Linked DNA regions of Homo sapiens: all the other regions are linked to region 1. Evidence: promoter capture Hi-C in 16 types of primary human blood cells and fetal thymus (Javierre and others, 2016). All regions are on one chromosome and are shown on one strand. The core of a region is centred on a gene start or on the middle of the fragment in contact, and the rest is flanking DNA. Distances in the headings are between cores, read along the strand shown. Region 1 holds the start of C1orf216 (chromosome 1 open reading frame 216). Region 2 overlaps PSMB2 (proteasome 20S subunit beta 2). Region 3 overlaps PSMB2 (proteasome 20S subunit beta 2).

What was found. Contacts are between HindIII fragments. The CHiCAGO score rates a contact against its expected background, and 5 or more counts as called.
Region 2: a fragment that was not itself captured here is called in contact with the fragment with the promoter of C1orf216 in region 1 in 1 of 17 cell types (megakaryocytes); the score reaches 8.7 in megakaryocytes.
Region 3: a fragment that was not itself captured here is called in contact with the fragment with the promoter of C1orf216 in region 1 in 3 of 17 cell types (endothelial precursors, megakaryocytes and M1 macrophages); the score reaches 5.9 in endothelial precursors.

The regions. Positions count from the first base shown.
Region 1 is chr1:35,716,976-35,720,822 of GRCh38, reverse strand. It overlaps C1orf216 (chromosome 1 open reading frame 216), which reads left to right and starts at 1,939. Exons shown (of 2, transcript NM_152374.2): 1 at 1,939-2,116. It also overlaps a transcript of CLSPN not described here. RefSeq lists silencers at 1-115, 1,778-2,207. The HindIII fragment of the contact is 2,001 bases long and covers 821-2,821 here.
Region 2 is chr1:35,631,416-35,634,994 of GRCh38, reverse strand. All of the region lies in intron 2 of PSMB2 (proteasome 20S subunit beta 2), which reads left to right. Among named protein-coding and RNA genes, the nearest start is that of PSMB2, 8.3 kb to the left of the region's middle. The HindIII fragment of the contact is 9,875 bases long and covers 1-3,579 here.
Region 3 is chr1:35,611,287-35,614,838 of GRCh38, reverse strand. The region is part of intron 3 of PSMB2 (proteasome 20S subunit beta 2); the gene reads left to right. Among named protein-coding and RNA genes, the nearest start is that of PSMB2, 28 kb to the left of the region's middle. The HindIII fragment of the contact is 1,242 bases long and covers 1,142-2,383 here.

The DNA.
Region 1 (3,847 bases), core at 690-3,189:
TTTATGGCTCTGTGGTCTGGGCAGAACTGCATAACCCTAGATCACCAAAGCTGAGAGCCTTTAGGAGTGAGGATTTGGGCCAGGCATGGTGGCTCACGCCTGTAATCCCAGCACTTTGGGAGGCCGAGGTGGGTGGATCACAAGGTCAGGAGATCAAGACCAACCTGACCAACATGGTGAAACCCCATCTCTACTAAAAATACAAAAATTAGCTGACGTGATGCATGCACCTGTAATCCCAGCTACTCAGGAGGCTGAGGCAGGAGAATCGCTTGAACCCGGGAGGTGGAGGTTGCGGTGAGCCGAGATTGCGCCACTGCACTCCAGCCTAGGCGACAGAGCGAGACTCCATCTCAAAAAAAAAAAAAAAAAAAAAAAAAGTGAGGATTTGGGTCACCCCAGGCTGAAGGCCAGGGGAACCTGAAGTGGATAAGGGAAGGGAGAAGACTTAGGCCACAGGATCTGATGTAGAAATGGGGCTGACGTCTCCACCTGTATTTTCTTAGCTGGAGGAGTGTGCAAAGTTTGAATTACTTCTGCCTTCTCCTTCTTATTTCCTTTTCCCTTTTAAAATAGTCATCATAATCATAAAAATTTCTTTTCCATTTTCCCTGTTTTTGCATATAGGATTTCTTGGTGTGATTTAATTTGCCAATTAGTCTCTAGGTTGCAGAATGGTGACTTGGAATCAAATTGAAACTGGAAGAGGGCACCTCATATATTAGGGTCAGCAATTACTGAACTCTGTTCTCTTTTATTCCAAACAGGGCCCCCAACTTCACATTTCCCCAGGGTGCAAAAGAGTGAGGGGGGTCAAGCTTCAGTAGAGTGGAGCTCTGAGAAGAATCCACTGGAGTTTGGAACCCAAGACCCTTTTTTATCACGCTGTTCCTCCTCACCTGGGCAAAAGCACTGGTACCCACTTCACAGGCATCATGGGTGGGCTCTGTGTCCTGCGGAGAGCCCCCGTCCCGGGTACAGGACATCAGCCCTGAGCCCTGTCCCAGGCTTGGATCTTCTTTCTCTCTCTCTCTTTTTTTTTTTTTTTTTTTTTTTTTTTTTGAGACGGAGTCCCACTCTGTTGCCCAGACTGGAGTGCAGTGGTGCAGTCTTGGCTCACTGCAACCTCCACCTCCCAGGTTCAAGCGATTCTCCTGCCTCAGCCTCCCAAGTAGCTGGGATTACAGGCGCCCGCCACCAAGCCCGGCTAATTTTTGTATTTTTAGTAGAGATGGGGTTTCACCATGTTGGCCAGGCTGGTCTCAAACTCCTGACCTCAGGTTATCTGCCCGCCTCGGCCTCCCAAAGTGCTGGGGTTACAGGCGTGAGCCACCGCACCCGGCCTCAGTGACTTTAGTCAAGTAAGCACAAAAAGGAATATATAATTCCAAATTGTGATAAATGCTATGAAGAAAAGGAATGTGCTCTGACATAAAGGGGGGAACGAACGTGATCTAGGGAGTCAGAGATCTCTCCGAGAAGAGATCTGAAATAGGAGTAAGTCGAGAGGGGGAAGAGAATGCTAGACCGAGGGAACAGTGCGTGCCAAAGCCGCGTGGCGGAAAGGGGCGTGTGGGAGGGTAACTGCGGAGAGGGAGGGTAGAGGACGAAGCCGGAGAGGCAGACGAAGGGCAGGACGCACAGAGCCCCGCGGCTACCGCCTTAGGGGTTGTCCCGGCGGTGGGGAAGCCATTGAGGAGTTTAACGCCGGAAGGTGGTGACTAATCAGATTTCACTTGAAAATGGCACGGTGTCTGCAGCGAGGCTAACTGATGGGAAGGGCCCAGCGAATGCCAATAGGAGAGAGCACCGGACCTGGAAGGCCTGGGTCAACGCGGCCCCGCGCGGGGGCGAAGCGGTTCCGGCGCAGGGGCCTGGCGCGGGGCTCCGCGGAAAACCGAACCGGCCCACGTGGGACCGGTCGCTCCGCCCTGCTGCGCAGACGCCGCCTGACTCCGCAGTCCGGGACTGGGGCTGGGCGCGCTGCCCGGGAGCCCCGCACCCACGCCTGGACCGCGGAGACGCCCAGGCCGAGGAACCCCCAGCCCAGGGACTAGACACCACCAGGGCCGGGCGGAGCCAGAGCCAGACGCGCCGGAGCGGGCGCCTCTACGCCGTGAGTCCGAGTCTGGGGCCCGAGGCGGGGTGGGGCTTGGGGCTCAGCCGCGGGAAGCGGGGAGTCACAGTGGCCTCCTTCGAGGAGACTAGGGAAGGATGGTCTCTGTCTCCTGGGGTGGTCTCCCACTCCCGCAAGGCCAGAAAAGGAGGCTGCCTCCTGTTTGGGCGGAGACCTAGTCCTGGCGTGTCGGGGTTCTCATTTTACTATCTCTGAGAACCCTGTGATCCCTAGCGCCACCCCCACCCCATCCCAGCTTCCTTCACGGCCCCATCCAAGTATAGGAAAAATAAAAAATTGGGGCGAGGGGAGATCTCTAGGCACCTTCCCACAAGCCTTGCTTAGAGGGCGATTAGAAACGAACTGTTCCTACACCCTTCTCCCCAGGACTTCTCTGCCCATTGCTGGGGGTGGGGAGGGTCCATGCCACCTATGGAGCGCCTTCCAGTGCCGGCTCCACTTACAATACCCTTCCTCTTCATGCTCTTCAATTGTTCTAATCCCAGTGCTGTTTGGTCAGTAGAATCCCTTTGTCAGTTCAAATCCTAATTTTGGTTAGAAGCAGGTTATGGAGGAGAGAAGAGTGGTGTGGTATGCCCTCCCTCCAGGGCCTCAGAATGGAGCAAGCTAGGGACGGGGACCGCAAGATAGTGGCTGTGTTCCAGAGGCATTGGGAGGGAAGGGGGCAGGCTCAGAAGAAAAGCTTGTCACTGGGGAAGGCGGGGCTCCCTGGCTGGGGTAGGAAAGGGAACCAAACCCAGCTCTTCCAGAACCCAGCTCTTCCAGCCCTGGGGAGTCAAGAGTGGATTCCTGAGCATGGAAATTCACTGCAGTCTCTTCTCCCATTCACTCACTTAGCAAGTACCTGTATGCACAGACAGCCTGGTTCAGGGCTCTATGCTGGCTGACTCTGGGGAATATGATGGAGGATATATACAGGAGGTCCAAGCCAGATTACAAACTGCTATTACAAGATCATTACCACAAACCAAAAATGCCAGTTGAATAGACATTCACTGATCGTCGACCATGTATGCCAGGGACGGATGCAAAGTTGGATAAGACAGTGTATACCCAGCGCAGTGGGGACCCAGAGGAAGGCATAACTAACCGTGCTTGTTTATGTAATATTGATTGGGGCAGTATCAAGACGGCTTCAGAGACATGGGGACATGGAAACATGGGGATATTACAGCTAATTTTGAAGTACAAAAAGGAATTTGCTGGGTGGAGAAGGGAGGAGCTTTGAGGGGAGGGGAGAGGAAGGATATTGTAGGCCAAAGGAATACTGTAAGAAAAACAATGGTGTGTTTTGAGATCTCTGGGCAGTTTGCTATGATGGGAGGGGCAGAGTGGCAAGAGGCAGGTATGGAGGGGTGAGCAGGGGCCAGATCAAACAGGGTGTTGTAGGCCAGGTAGAGGTTTAGCAGGAATTCAGGGAGGGCATTAGGAGTGGTGACAAGTGAAATTTACATTTTTAACTGGAGGCAGAGAGATCAGTGAAAAGGCCGAGGCAATAATCCAGGTCAGAAATGGCCTGGAAGAGGAAGAATGGTCAGAATGTGGTTATTAATGAGATGGGAGAAGGAAGGATAGTGAGGACCCCAGGATGCTCTCAGCTTTCTGGATGGAGTACAGAGCCATCTTGCTGAGGATACTGAAGGAGAGCTTGTTTGGTTATGTAGAATTTTGGCGGGGGGCGGTGGTGGAGGGGGATGATGTCACTCTGTC
Region 2 (3,579 bases), core at 1,080-3,579, 86 kb after region 1:
AGCCACCACGCCCGGCCTTCTACAAAAAAGTTTTTAAAAATTAGCTGAGTGTGGTGGCATGCACCTATAGCCCTAGCTACTCAGGAGGCTGAGGCAGGAAGATCGTTTGAGCCCAGGAGGTCGAGGCTGCAGTGAGTTATGATTGTGCCACTGTACTCTGGAAGGCAGCAAGACTCTGTCTCTAAAAAAAATTTTTTTAAACCAACCAAAAAAAAAAAAACCCAACACCATCTTGGAGGTAGGGATGGTAGTATCAGACTTTTTAAGTGTTAGATATCTCAGAGGATGTGGTTTGAGTTTAAAAGTATCTGAACCTGGCCAGGCACAGTGGCTAGCACCTGTAATCCCAGCACTTTTGAGAGGCTGAGATGGGAGGATCACTTGAGGTCAGGAGTTTGAAACCAGCCTAGGCAACAAAGCAAGACCCTGGCTCTATAAAAAATAAAAATATTTACCTGGGTGCAGTGGTGCACACCCATAGTCCCAGCTACTCAGGAAGCTGAAGTGGGAAGATCACTTGAGCCCAGGAGTTCAAGGTCTCAGTGAGCCATGATAGTGCCACTGCACTCCAGCCTGTGCGACAGAGTGAGACCCTGTCTCAAAACAAAGAAACAAAAAAATCTGAATCTCAGCGTCAAAAAACCTAAGTAAACCTTGGCTTTACTATTTTTTATGTGATAAGTCATTTATCTTCTCTGGGACTTTATTTTCCTTATCTCTGAAATGAATTATAATACTAATGAATAATACATATGAAAATATTTTGTAAACCTAAAGCATTGTGTAACTAACTATAAGTATTTACTGTGCCATAAAAGGGTTCTGCCTTACTCTCTGGTAGGTTTCCTTCTAGAGAGATAATTAAGACTTTTGTGAAGTATTTTGTGAGCTCTCTCTGGGGCTAATGAACTCTTATCCACTGGGAAAACCTCCCTAGCAAACGATACTAGCCACTAGGCCTCTGATCCAGGAATGTTTGTAGTGGTGGTCTGGCAGAGAAAACCTTATTTCCACTTACCTCACAGTTCAATAACAACGTTATACACTGCACTGGTATAATATGGAGCTATGAAGGAAGTTAATTTGAATATACTTGCATGTGTAAAATGACCAAAGATCTATTCACATAGTTTGGGCAGTGGATTTAGCATTTGTATTCAATTCCATAAATACTTTTGAGGGCCTCTTCTATGGTAAGCATTCTGCTTAATACTTAAGAGAATTCAAAGATGAATAAGGCTTAGTCCTGACATTCAGGAACATAAAGTACATGGTACTTAGGTTTATGCAGGTTTAGAATATTTCAAGAATTCTGCTTTTTTTTCCAGTGGTTCCACTTTTTGCCTGCATAACAAATGAAGTATGTCAGTAATGCTTCTGAAGTCCAGTAGGTACTGTATGACTTCACTGGCTGTCCTGAGAGAGGGAGAAGAGTGAACAAGAGTAGCAAGAGTTGTTTGTTACTGGGTTTTAGGGTCTAAAGTCAGTGCACAGACAAAAACTGTGTTTGGTTAAAATTGCCCTTAAAGACCCTTAAATTACCTGCCAAGTACAGTTTTGTGTATGTAACTCTATATAGTAATTCTTATATAAGTTAAAGAACTGAGCTAAAATAAGGGAAAGAAAGAGAAAATCTATATGCAGATAATCAGGCATGACTTTTCTGCCTTTAGGATAATGGTCAGATCTTCAGTGGTGTTTAGGGGGTTAAGTAAAGAATTGAATAGTATTCCCACTTGTCTAGGTTCCTTCTTTTTTTTTTTTTTTCTTTTTTGAGTCAGGGTCTCGTTCTGTTGCTCAGATTGGAGTGCAGTGGTGCAGTCTCAGCCCACTGCAACTTCCAGCTCCTGGGTGCAAGTGATTCTCGTGCCTCAGCCTCCTGAGTAGTTGGGATTATAGGCATGCACCGCCATGCCTGGCTAATTTTTTGTATTTTAAGTAGAGACAGAGTTTCGCTATGGTGGCCAGGCTGGTCTTAAACTCCTGTCCCCAGGTGATCCACCCACCTGGGCCTCCCAAAGTGTTCTGGGATTACAGGTGTGAGCCACTGTGCCTGGCCTCTTTTTTTAAATTATTATTATTATTTTTGTTGTTGTTGTTGAGACAGGGTCTCACTCCTGTCGCCTGGGCTGGAGTGCAGTGGCACAATCATGGCTCATTGCAGCCTCGAATTCCCAGGCTCAGGTGATCCTTCCACCTCAGCCTCCCAACTACCTGGGAAAACAGGTGTGCACCACCACCCCTGGCTAATTTTTATATTTTTAGTAGAGACGGGGTTTCATCATGTTGCCCAGAATGGTCTTAAACTCCTGGGCTCGAGTGATCTGCCTGCCTCCGCTTCCCAAAGTGCTGTGATTACAGGCATGAGCCACTGCACCTGGCCAAGGATTGCTTTCATTATGATTTAATATGCACTAATAGACTTGTGAGGATAAAGTACAATAATACATGTGAAAACACTCAGCATAGACCCTGAAACATAGTTGCTGCTCAATAAATATTTGTTAGGATTTGAATCTGAATCTCTCCTAATTTGACAGTGGTATTTGAAATGTTGTAAGCAATTACTTAACCACACTGCTGTGTGTCTTTCCATACTGACATTTTCTGTGTGGGCCCACTGAGTTATGGATCATTCTTGTGCCTTTTGGCACTGGTCCCATTCTACAGGGGGATTAAGCTCCAAAGTGAATGCGTTATTACATGCACACCTGATGCTATTCCTCTGGGTTGTACCTTTGTTGGTATGACAACTTTTATTTTTGAAGTTTTAACACTTGAGATACTCTATTTTTAAAAATACTGCAGAATGATGGAAATGTTCTTTTTCTGTGGCTTATACTTTTGAAAGTCATATTATACTTCTTAATAAAGTAACATTTAAAATATTTTTTTAATAAACTATGACTCTGAGGTAGTCCTAACTTCTAGCCTCTCTTTTCCCAATATCCTTTTTGTTCCTGTTTTCGTTTTTTTAGAGACAGGGTCTTGCTCTGTCACCCATGCTGTAGTGCAGTGGCACAGTCATAACTCACTTGAACTTCTGGGGTCAATTGATCCTCTCCACTCAGCCTCCTAAGTAGCTGGGATTACAGGCATGTACCACCATGCCTAGAAATTTAAAAAAAAATTTTTTTTAGAGATGGGGGTCTCACTATGTTGCCCAGGCTAGTCTCAAACTCCTGGGCTCAAGCGATCTTCCCACCTTGGCTTCCCAAAGCTCTAGGATTACAGGCATGAGCCACTGTGACTGGCCCCCAATATCCTTTTTAAAATAAACTTTTAAAAGATTGGCATCTAAGACGCCTTTCTTTTTTTTTCACTTCTTGTGTATTCGTGTTCCTTTCCTTCTACGGCAGAAACCACAGTGTGTTGATGAATGAATAGTTTAAGCAAGGCTGCTAGAAGTTTCATTCCACTATAGAACTGGTTCTGTTTGTGGCCAAGAATTGCTGTCAGTACTAACCAGCTATTTCATAGCTGTTGCATGAGGAAAGGGACTAGAGTAGGATTGTACCCCTCAGTCTATGCTTTGTTTACTCTGAGTGTACAAAAGATGGTGGGCTTTAGGAACAGGGG
Region 3 (3,552 bases), core at 513-3,012, 110 kb after region 1:
AAAATTTTGGTGGTACCTCATGCTAGAAGCTGAAGTTCATTCTGAATTCCCAGGCTGGTTCATTTAAAATTTTTTCTTTGTATATCAATTAGACACAACTTTAAACATGTTGGTGTTTGCATTGCAGACCATTGATGGTGATTGCCAAGACCTTTGGGTAGAGAGTATCTTAGCTAAATGTTTGGGTTCACTTGGATGAATGTTTGGATATTTAGGTTAATTCAATACTATATATAATGTTCAGTCTTAGCTTATGGTGTGGAAGAAGCCTAGTCTTGTATGTTGCAGTTCTTCCCCTTGGGGACCTCAAAACTTTGTCTTACTACTTAGACTTACTATCTAAACAATTAGAATAGTGGAGACAACCAAAGGCTAGATTATATCATGTACAGAATAGAGATTTCATTTTAAAAGATTCTTGGTAATCTTTGCGAAGGATTACTTTGTAAGAGATTCTTTGTCAAGAGGATCACTGGCAGTGCTCTCATTATTGATTAATGTTTTCATTTCCCCAGATAATTAGGCAAATCCTTAAGTATGTAACATCATGGGGAACTAAGGGAACTGATGAAAAACTGTCTAGAAAGTAGCTTTACCACTCAGAGTAGACACATTTGGAAGGGAAGAAATGACATGGTTAGGGAGGGTTGACCATGAAGTAGATATGCTCTACGTGTCTAGTACAAATGCTTGTGACACTGAACACCATTACCCTAGGGCCCCTGGAAAGAGTCCCAGGAATGAGAGAGGAGGAAACTCATTTACTGACTGCTTTTCTACCATGTGTCAGGCACTGTGCTGGGCACTAACATCCTTCCATATCCCTTTATGAAGACACATAGGAATTTCCCTCGTATCTCAGTGCCAGAAGTAGTTGGGCTTCTCCTGAGTACTTGCATTGTTTATAGAGTCTTTACTGTTTCGGGCATTACACTTATTATCCACATGCATTATCTTTTGGAATCCTCACTGCAGCAACCCTTTTGTAGTAGGGATCATCCCATGTTTTAAATGAGAAATTAAAATTCAGAGAGATTAAATGACTAACTTTTCTAAAGTCACAGCCCAACTCTTTCTTATTTATTTATGCTATTGGTCTCCTCTTTGTTCAGTTCTGAATGCCTGGCCTGTATCCTAAGCTTTTCTTTACTTAGCACCCTGTGTCTAGAGGGAGGTAGAAAGAGAAGGACCCAAGCCTAGCAAAAAGCAACAATAGATGTACATTCATGGAGATGCTGGCAGTTGACTTAAACTTGAACCACTTCTCAGAAGTAGCACTTATTGCTTTCTCACATTTGTTTAGTGACTTTTCTTTTTATTTGGTAGAAATAGGGTCTTACTCTGTTGCTAGTCAGTCTGTAGTACAGTGGGGGGATCATAGTTCACTGTATGCCGGGGCTTAAGGATCCTCCTGCCTCAGCCTTCCAAGTAGCCCCCTAACCTAGATTTTTTTTTTTTTTTCCCATAGAGACAGGGTCTTGCCATCTTGCCTACACTGGTCTTGAACTCCTAGGCTCAAGCAGTCCTCTCACCTTGGCCTCCCAAAGTGCGGGATTACAGGCATGGGCCACTGTGCTCAGCCAAGCCAGAGATCTTTGGTGGAGCATTGTCAGAAGAATTTTACAAACTGCAAGTTGTTGCACAGATGTATTGATTTAATTAGTCTAGATAACACCATTTATTTATGCTTAAGCATCTCACACATGCAAAAGTTGGTAATTCAAAGTCACACAATAATTTGTGAGTTATCTTCAATACCAGGAGTTGTAGCTTCTGAATACCAACTTTGGTAAGTATATGTGTGCGTCAGATGCCTAAGCATGAGTAAATGATACTATATAGACCAATTAAGTGATGGAGTTTGCTTCTGAAATTCTGTTGACATCCTATTTCATCTAAAATTTTCTGGTAGTGGATTTTAAATAACATTTATTGTTCTAAACAATTTAATCTCATAGTATGGACAAGATCTTCATTGAAGACAAAACATCTGGGTTCTAACAAGGCCTCTTTGAGTATCTGGGGGAATACTTAATATACCATTGCAACTTGATGAAATTGTCTTGGCTAAGTATACAGTGAGTGTTCTGGCTAGTTAGTAGAGAAGAGTAGAGATTATCCTCTTAGCAAAAAGATTTAACTTACTTTGTGATAGGTAAAAGACTGTATTATTAATTCTCTTGGGGAGGGATACCAGTTTCTCTTTGCTATTCTGCCTCTTTTCCTCCCTCTTTCTCTCTTCTAATTTTAACTGTAAGAACACCAAGGTATTCTATGTCTGCCAGATTTTGCAGTACTGTTTTCACACTTATATATAACTAATAGCATTTTTAAAATCTGTAGCTAATTTAAGCAGGTTTGTTGTTGTTTAAAGTGATAAGCTTTCAAAAAGAGACTGGGATGTAGTTATGTAGTAGGAATTTTGGTAGCATCTTTTCTTCCAGAGTTTGGGTTGTTTTACCGTTATTATTTTTTCTCATTATATTTCCTAGAAGATAGAAAGGAGAAAGATTAATTAACCCAGTTTTACATGTTAAAAAAAAAAAAACCCAGAAGCTCATAGGGGTTAAGTTTTTTGCCTAAGGTCAGCTTTACTAAGAAGGTACTCAGAATGCACAGAGAATTCCAGAGCTTGGCAGAGTGCCGCACGCTACTCATTGGGAAATACAATAGGCAGATAATTATTTTCTCAGAAGTCTTGACTGCTGGTCAACTTATTTCTCTCTGGGACTACCCACTGTCCTATCACTAAAACAGAAACTTATTTGGAGGTGAGGACTACTCTGTAATCTCCAGGCGATGTTAGGAACCCTTTCTACTTAGCACAGCTGGCTTAGAATTCCAAGTAAGTATATAATATGAGTTTCATGCTAGGCACGGTGGCTCAAGACTGTCATCCCAGCACTTTGGGAGGCCAAGGTGGAAGGATTACTTGAGCCTAGAAGTTGAAGGCCAGCCTGGGCAACATAGTGAGACCCCATCTCTCTCTCTCTCTCTCTCCTTTTTTTTTTGGAGATAGAGTCTTGCTCTATTGCCCAGGCTGGAGTGGTGCAGTAGCACTATCTCGGCTCACTGCAGCCTCTGCCTCCCAGGTTCAGGCGATTCTCATGCCTCAGCCTCCCAAGTAGCTGGGATTATAGGCTCGTGCCACCACGCATGGCTAATTTTTGTATTTTTCGTAGAGACAATATTTCACCATGTTGGCCAGGCTGGTCTCAAACTCCTAACCTCAAGTAATCTGCCCGCCTCGGCCTCCCAAAGTGCTGGGATTACAGGCATGAGCCACCGTGCCCGGCCAAGACTTCATCTCTTAAAAAAATAATAATAAATCAGCAGGGCATGGTGGTAGGTGCCTATAGTCGTAGCTGCTCAGGAGGCTGAGGTGGGAAATTCACTTGAGCCTAGGAGTTTGAGGCTGCAGCGAGCTATGATTGCACCACTGCACTCCAGCCTGGGCGACAGAACAAAAGCCTGTTACTCCCCTCCCAACCCCTCCCCCCAAAAAAAGCAAAAACCATGAGTTTTTTAAGGCTGCCAAGTGGCCGTGTTAAT